Regions from separate parts of the Homo sapiens genome. Here all the other regions are linked to region 2. The links are contacts of gene promoters, found by promoter capture Hi-C in blood cells and fetal thymus (Javierre and others, 2016). All regions are on one chromosome and are shown on one strand. Each heading gives the region's core, a stretch centred on a gene start or on the middle of the fragment in contact. The rest is flanking DNA. Distances are from core to core; before and after follow the strand shown.

What was found. The method cuts DNA at HindIII sites, captures the fragments that hold promoters and counts their contacts. A CHiCAGO score of 5 or more calls a contact.
Region 1: a fragment that was not itself captured here is called in contact with the fragment with the promoter of CCSAP in region 2 in 3 of 17 cell types (total B cells, naive B cells and M2 macrophages); the score reaches 7.4 in total B cells.
Region 3: a fragment that was not itself captured here is called in contact with the fragment with the promoter of CCSAP in region 2 in 1 of 17 cell types (total CD8 T cells); the score reaches 5.8 in total CD8 T cells.

What each region holds. Positions count from the first base shown.
Region 1 is chr1:229,476,601-229,479,355 of GRCh38, forward strand. It overlaps NUP133 (nucleoporin 133), which reads right to left. Exons shown (of 26, transcript NM_018230.3): 13 at 997-1,160. Among named protein-coding and RNA genes, the nearest start is that of NUP133, 30 kb to the right of the region's middle. RefSeq lists a silencer at 2,391-2,500. The HindIII fragment of the contact is 3,349 bases long and covers 1-2,755 here.
Region 2 is chr1:229,341,765-229,344,490 of GRCh38, forward strand. CCSAP (centriole, cilia and spindle associated protein) reads right to left here and starts at 1,283. Exons shown (of 4, transcript NM_145257.5): 1 at 1,148-1,283; 2 at 335-749. The coding sequence starts at 701. RefSeq lists silencers at 332-531, 732-1,591, 2,438-2,726. The HindIII fragment of the contact is 1,840 bases long and covers 1-1,746 here.
Region 3 is chr1:229,503,424-229,506,123 of GRCh38, forward strand. NUP133 (nucleoporin 133) reads right to left here. Exons shown (of 26, transcript NM_018230.3): 2 at 2,617-2,700. Among named protein-coding and RNA genes, the nearest start is that of NUP133, 3.6 kb to the right of the region's middle. The HindIII fragment of the contact is 457 bases long and covers 1,051-1,507 here.

The sequences.
Region 1 (2,755 bases), core at 121-2,620, 130 kb after region 2:
ACTGATTATGCCAAAATTATCATTTAATTTGGGGGTAAGTAGGCTGGGTGTGGTGGCTTACACCTGAAATCCCAGCACTTTGGGAGATCAAAGCGGGTGGACCACCTGAGGTCAGGAGTTCAAGACCAGCCTGGCCAACATGGTAAAACTACATCTCTACTAAAAATACAAAAATTAGCTGGGCATGGTGGTGCACACCTGTAATCTCAGCTACTCAGGAGGCTGAGGTGGGAGTATCACTTGAACCCAGGAGGTGGAGGTTGCAGTTAGCTGAGATCGTGCCACTGCATTCCAGTCTGGGTGACAAAGTAAGGGAGACCCTGTTTCCAAAAAAAAAAAACAAAAAAAAAAACTGGGATTGGGGGGCAGGTAAGTGCCAACTGTCTACCTATGCAACCAATTTTCTTTTAGAAATAAAAGCCAGGAAAGCTAAGTAAGGCAATTAATCTGCCTTGGATAGAACAATTAGGATTTGCTCCAATGTTCCTTTAGTTTCCATTCTGTTATCTAGACCTGTTCTGACCCTTTTTCAAAACATACTATAAGGAAGGTTACCTGGCCGGGCCTGGTGGCTCACACCTGTAATCCCAGCACTTTGGGAGGCCGAGGTGGGTGGATCACGAGGTCAGGAGATCAAGACCAACCTGGCTAACACAGTGAAACCCCGTCTCTACCAAAAATACAAAAAAATTAGCCAGCCATGGTGGCGGGCACCTGTAGTCCCAGCTACTCGGGAGGCTGAGGCAGGAGAATGGCGTGAACCTGGGAGGTGGAGCTTGCAGTGAGCCAAGATCGCGCCACTGCACTCCAGCCTGGGTGACAGAGCCTTGCTCTGTCTCAAAAAAAAAAAAAAAAAGGAAGGTCACAATATTTTAAAAAATATTGAATTAATATTAAATTGTTTGAGAAGCTAAAAAATATGCTTTAAGAGATGCTTCTAATAAAGAAACCAGAATATGTTCAAAACACACCGTTCCATAATTGAAACATTCTTACCCTCAGGGACAGACTCAGCCCACCGTGGGTCAGATGCTGGGTAGTCATCCATCAGGTCTACACTGATTTGGGTAACTGCCCTGTCTAGTTCAGAATCAGAATCCAAATCAGAGTGAGAGGAAAAGAGCTCATCAACCACCATTTGAGCATGACCTAAATCTTTTCTGAAATAAAATTGGAAAACACAAGTATTAAGGGAGGCAAAATATTTTCAAAACTCACCAAGAAAAAATTAATTATGGACTACTATTCAGCCAAAAAAAAGAATGCGATCCTGTCATTCGCAACAGTAGGGATGGAACTGGAGGACATGTTAAGTGAAATAAGTCAGGCACGAAAGACATGTAACAAACTTTACATGTTCAATAATTTAGTGTACATTTTAAAGTAACTAAGAGCATAATTAGAATGTTCACAACATACAAAAAAGATGAATGCTTGAGGTGACGGATATCCCATTTACCCTGATGTGATTATTACGCATTGTATGCCCGTATGAAAATATCTCATGTACCCCACAAACGTATACACCTACTATGTACCCATAAAAATAAAAAAAAAATTTTAAGTTAATTGTGAAGTTAAATGTAACCTAAAAACCATTTATAGGTTTTGGCTCAAAGTTACTTTTAATAAAATTTATTTAATTAAAAGGGAGAAAACTATTATCCATTCATTAATTCAATAAATACACATTGAATACTTAGAACATGCTCGGCTCTGGACACAGAAAGATAAAAAGACTTAAAAATAGTCCAGACAATTGAGCAAGCAATGACACAGGTGATAAACACCGAGAGAGACAGGGAAAACTTCCTAACAGGTAAAGAGGAGGTCATGGAAGGCTGGGGAGAACTGGGGGAGGGGTATACAGCTGCACACAGAACATACATCCACATCCGTCCGCAAGTAAGCCTCTATCTCAGGAGAGAACTGAGGCTACGGGAGAGGCTGAGATCACCCAGGGAGCAAGAGTTTGGAAAAAACTTGCAGGATAACCAATTAAAGGAAGGGTAAGCCCATAAAAAGCAGCAGACTCTTCTAACTTAGAGAGATTAGGGGACAACTAGGGTGTCAATGAACCCACCAGGGGATTAACTATGGCACACATGAAGAAACGAGGGATACTGAGAAGGGATGAATCACAAAATTAGAGGACACGGTCTTGTAAACCATGTTATGGGGTTTGAACCTAATACCAAGGACAATGGACAGGCACTGTAAAGGAGTGTCACAGTCTGTTCCAGTGTCCCAAAAGATTGCTCTATCATATGGAGAGGGGATCAGATGTCAGATCAGACAAGAGAAAAATCCAGTTAGGAGGTTACTGCAGAAAGGAAAAGACAGGAAAGAGAAAAATCCAGTTAGGTTACTGCTGGATCTGATGTACAGTAGTCCCCTCTTATTCATGGTTTCACTTCCCACAGTCACAGTTACCTGCAGTCAACTGCAGTCTGAAAACAGATGACAGAGACAGAGAGAGAGAGAGAGACCAACCACACTCACATATTTTTATTACAGTACAGTCATCTCTCAGTATACACAGGGGATTAGTTACAGGACCCCCAACATACACCAAAATCCACCCATATTCAAGTCCTGCAGCTGGCTCTGTGGAGCTCCAGCATACAAAAAGGCGACCTTCTGCATAAGCAAGTGAATTTCTGATCCGCATTTGGTTGAAAACATGCTGTGAATTTTTGATCCGCATTTGGTTGAAAACAGCCTGCATATTATGTAGACCCACACAGTTCAAAGC
Region 2 (2,726 bases), core at 33-2,532:
GCAGATGGGACTCAGTGGTTCGCCAAGAAATAAGATGGGATTCAGAGGTTTGCCAAGCCGCAGAGGCCCGCGAGGAAAGACCCCAGACTCAGCCAGCGGCGCTTCAATTGAGTTCACCGCTGGCTCGACCGAAAGCCACCTAATTAAGGAAATAAAGGGTGGCAAAGGCTGCCACCTTCCCTATTTTGTCAAGAGAGACGGATTCTGTCAACCGAAAAAAAAAAAAGGAAGAGCCAGCCCCGAGTGGCGCAAGAAATAAGAGATCAGCTGCTCAGAGCTTAGAGCAAACCGTCCCTGCGTGCAGGCCCCTCGCGCTCCCCTCCGGGCCGGGTACCTGGCAGAGCCGCGTCCTCCGCGTCCTCGGCCTCCGCGTCCCCGGCCTCCGCGTCCTGCTCCTCCGGGGCCCCGCGCGCCCGCCGTTCCGCCTCCTCCTGGGTCGCCGGCTCTACGGGCGGCGGGGGCGAGGGCGGGGCGCACCGGGGTGCGGGGCCCCCGGCGCCCGACGACTCTGACGACGCCGAGTCCTCCGAGGAGCCGGCCGGGCCCCAGTCGTCCCAGAGCCAGGGCGCGTGCGCCTGCTCCAGCAGCCGGCGGCCTAGGCGGTAGTGCAGCAGCTCGCGGTAGCACGGCCCGTACTCCTCCCAGCGCGGCTCCTGGTAGCGCTTCATGTACTCGCTCTTCACCCCGCTCCCCGGGGACATGGTGCCGTCCGCCGCCTCGAGCGCCAGCCGCTCCTCGCTGCCCGCAGCCTACGGGACCCGGTACACGACACAGAGGCCGCCCCGCCCCTCCGCCGGCCCTGCCCGCCGCGACGTTTAAACCCGGAGCCCCGCCCGGACGGGAGCAGGGGGCGGGTCCCGGCGAGGGCGGGGAGGGGGCGGGGCGGGGGCGGCCTCACCCGGCGGCCGGGACCAAGAGCAGAGGCGGGGACCGGGGCTGCTGGGGTCGAGGGGCGCGCCGCCGAGGAGGGCTGCTCAGTGGGCGGAAGGCAGGGAGGCTGCGGGCTGGGGCGAGGGGACCGCAGGAGACTGGGGCTGAGCGGGAGGAGGAGCGAGGGAGGGGAGCGGCGGGGCCCGTGATCGGGTGGTCCTGGGGTCTCCGGAGGCGTCCCCTGAGCTAGGCGTGCGGTCCCGCGGGGCTGCCTTACCTCCTTCCCGCCGCGCCCGGCCGATCCTCTGCGCCCAGGCCCGAGGCGCGCGTGGCGCAGCAGCTAAAGCGCAGCTCGCTCTCCCGCGCGCTTTCCTCCTGAGCAAGATGTCGCCGCGGCGGCCCGCGCTCCAGCTGCAGGCGGGAGGCGGTGGCGCCGCCTCAGTCCCGGAGCCTCCACGCGCGCTCCCGGCCCCCGGGCCTCCGCCCGCTCCGTGGGGGCGGCTGCTTCCGTAGAGAGCGCGAGGCGCGGGGGTGCGGGCGTGCCTGCCAGTCCGAGGGGCCCAGGCCCAGGTCCCTGGCCCACTTATTTGAGGTGCCCGTCCACCCTGGTCCCAGCAGACGCTGTCCCAGGCACGCGTCACTCTGCAGGAGTCGTCAGTTAGGGGCAAGAGATGATCCCTCCAGATATGCAGCCCCCCCAGGCTGCGGCCGGGGGCGACACTCTCTGTCCTCACTCGAAACCTACCGGTTCTTCCTCTCTGTGTTCACAACACCTGTTACTCTGGCTTTAACTCCCTTTTATATCTACACTCCCCAAATTCTTTTAGATTTTGATCAAAACCATTTCACTCGCTCAGAGATTCGTTTGCACATAAAAGCTTGACAGATTAACTTACGTTGTGCAGAAGTATACAAAGTTGTCCCATTTGTTACAGTTTCAAAAGTGGCCCCACACTCTTTTCCCTTTTTACACATAAAACCTTCACAGATCCAGTTACTTTGTGCAGAAGTATACAACGTTGCCCCATTTGTTACAGTTTCAAAAGTGGCCCCGCACTGTTTTCCCTTTTTGCTCATAAAACCTCCACAGATCCGGCTGAGCGCTGTGGCTCACGCCTGTAATCCCAGCATTTTGGGAGGCCGAGGCGGGTGGCTCACGAGGTCAGGAGATCGAGACCATCCTGGCTAACACAGTGAAACCCCATCTCTACTAAAAAAATAAAAATAAAAAGAATTAGCCCGGCGTGGTGGTGAACGGCTGTAGTCCCAGCTACTCGGGAGCCTGAGGCAGGAGAATGGCGTGAACCCGGGAGGCGGAGCTTGCAGTGAGCCTAGATTGCGCCACTGCACTCCAGCCTGGGCGACAGAGCAAGACTCCGTCTCAAAAAAAATAAAAAATAAAAAATAAAAACCTTCACAGATCCAGTTACATTGTACAGAAGAATACAACGTTGCCCCATTTGTTACAGTTTCAGAAGTGGTCCTGCACTATTTTCCCTTTCTTAAAAAAAGAGCCTTGATACAGTAGCTGCAAAAAGATTTGAAAGGAAAAAACTTTTGGAAAATCTAAATATATATATAGCAGTTAAAAAGCAAGCCCAGGCCGTGAGTAGCGCTCACGGCTTCCACGTCAGGATTCCCACGAATTCACCTACTTTCTACGTGTCCGCATCCTGCCTCCCACCACCACCGCCCACCTCATCATAGCTAAATGATTCAGAGGCGGCTACTGGCCCAAATGGGGCGGGTCAGACCGTCTGCTCTGAAAACTTGAAGTTACTAGTCCAATCATTAGCACGGGATTGTGTTAATGGCAGTTTTCTGGACGGAAACTCCAGGATACCCTGCTGCTAATG
Region 3 (2,700 bases), core at 29-2,528, 160 kb after region 2:
AGAGCTCCTTAAAGGAATGATAAATTATTTAGTACATGGAGACAAAGAGTTACGTTCTCTATTAAGTGACAAAACTAAATTAGCACATATCTTAAGTATTGGTGGTAAACCTCCACAAATGTGTTAACAGCCCTGGAAATTTTATTAAGTTGAGCTTTGCTCTTTACTTACAGAAAGGTAGAAGGGTGAAGTAAAAGGCATAGACAATGTACAAGCAAAAATATCAAACCAAGCCCAGGCTGAGTGAGGCTTTTTGCTCAACTGAACTATCTGCTCAGTAATTTTCTTTTTCTTGAAAGCACTACAACTCCAGATCCTCGACCGGTGTGCCTTTAAGGGCTGACTTAACAGTAGTTGGCAGGTTTCTAAGTGGGGAAGAGTTCTTCAAGTTGACACACCTCTTTGTTTTATATATCCTAATTTCTAAGGACTCTCTGAATTTCTAGATTTGGGGCTGTGTTATTTAATCTAGTCTGTTAAAATATGAGTAGTACATTAAAAGGTTTAAATGTAAACTGAAATTTTTAGAGGGGAAAAATATACACATATATACCAATATATATATATACATTTATTTATTTAAAACAGAACAATGTATAGAAAGGTTAGTAGTTGTCTGAAAACAACTATCCCTAAAGCTCCCAAGGACCTACAGGCAAGATGTGCCAAGTTCCAGTTGATGAGATATATTCCTTCTTCTAAAACAGAGTAATTTCAGCATTTTTTTTTTACTGTTATTAAGTTATACAGTAAATAGAGTTATTCACAGTATAATACATTTTACATCACGATACACCCATATACAATTTAAGTAAAACGAACAAAATTTACTAAACATATGAGATGCATTCTATTTCTTCTTTTTTTAAATGCTGGTCAAGAACCGCTAAATTTTGGTCACCCCTACAATTTGAAAAATACTGTTCCAGAAAAATCACAAAGATCTAGAATTCAAGCCTTAATAAAAATGACTTCAGCAGATATTAAGGCTGCTCTGAACTTTGCTCTTCCAGTGTCATCCAACTGCTCATCTTTAAAGTTGCCTTTCTAAGCTTGTGTTGATTGTATCTGTCAAAATTCCACACTAATTCTCCACCAACAGACGCTTCTAAAGGTACACCACGACAATGGTAACGTCATAAATTTGTGCACACAGCCTCTGGGATGCTACATAGGATCCAGAAATGGAGGTAGGACTTGATTTTACTGTATTATTAAACCCAATAACATGAGGTGCCAGTTTTGGGGTTTCACGGGAAACTTCATAAACCTGATCAACTCTGTAAACAGGACTGAATTTTGCATATACAGTATTTCCCCCTTTTATCTGCAGTTTCAAATACCTGTGGTCAATCGTAGTCTGAAAATATTAAATGGAAAATTCAAATGAACAATTCCTAAGTTGTAAATTGCATGCTGTTCTGGGTAAAGTGATAAAATCTCATACTGTCCTGCCTAAAGGTTGTGAATCAACCCTTTGTGCAGCATATCCATACTGTATACCCCAAGCTTGTCCAACCCATGGCCCAGGGACACGTGTGGCCCAGGACAGCTTTGAATGCGGTCCAACACAAGTTTGTAAACTTTCTTAAAACATGATAAGATTTATACACAGACCTTTTCATTATTTATTTTTAGCTCATCAGCTATCGTAAGTGTATTTTATGTGTGACCCAAGACAATTCTTCTTCCAAGTGGCCCAGGGAAGCCAAAAGATTGGACACCCCTGAGACTATCCAGCTGTTTGTCACTTAGTAGCTGTCTCAGTTACCAGATGAACTGTCGCAGTAATGCAATGCTTATATTCTCATTTTAGTTAATGACCCCAAACGAAGTACAAGAGTAGTGCTGCTGGTATATTGTTATAATTGTTCTACTTTATTATTACTGTTGTTCATCTTTACTGTTCCTAATTTATAAACTAAAGTTTATCATAGGTGTGTATGTATTAAAAAAACACAGTATATATAAGGTTTAGTACTATACAAGGTTTCAGGCATCCACTGGGGATCCTGGAAGATATCCCCCAAAGATAATGGGGGACTACTGTACAGTACCTAAAACCATTAAAGACTTAATTTGATTGTGTTCAAATGAACTCATTCTCCTTCTCGAATGTATTATACATCTCAATTACAGTTAAAAAAAAAAAAAAAAAAAAAAAAAAAAACTAAGACAGGTGGCCAGATGTGGTGGCTCACGCCTGTAATCCCAGCACTTTGGGAGGCCAAGGAGGGCAGATCACCTGAGGTCAGGAGTTCAAGACCAGCCTGGCCAACATGGTGAAACCCTGTCTCTACTAAAAATACAAAAAATTAGCTGGGCGTGGTGGCTCACACCTATAATCCCAGCTACTTGGGAGGCTGAGGCAGGAAACTCGCTTGAACCTGGGAGGTGGTGGTTGCAGTGAGCTGAGATCACACCACTGCACTCCAGCCTGGGTGACAGAGTGAGACTCTGTCTCGAAAAAATAAAAATAAAAAAACACTAGACAGGCCACCCATCTCTCACCATTTACGTAAAGGTATACTAGAGAAAACATAAATTTAATCTCTATGCCACATCTAGGCTCCATTTTAAACTGCTAATATAGGTAAATGGAAAGATGACACCTACCTTCAGCCAATGTTAGGGCTTCCATGACTTTAACAGGAAGAGAAGATCCAAACGTTTTCACATCATAGTTCACAGACTCAGTTA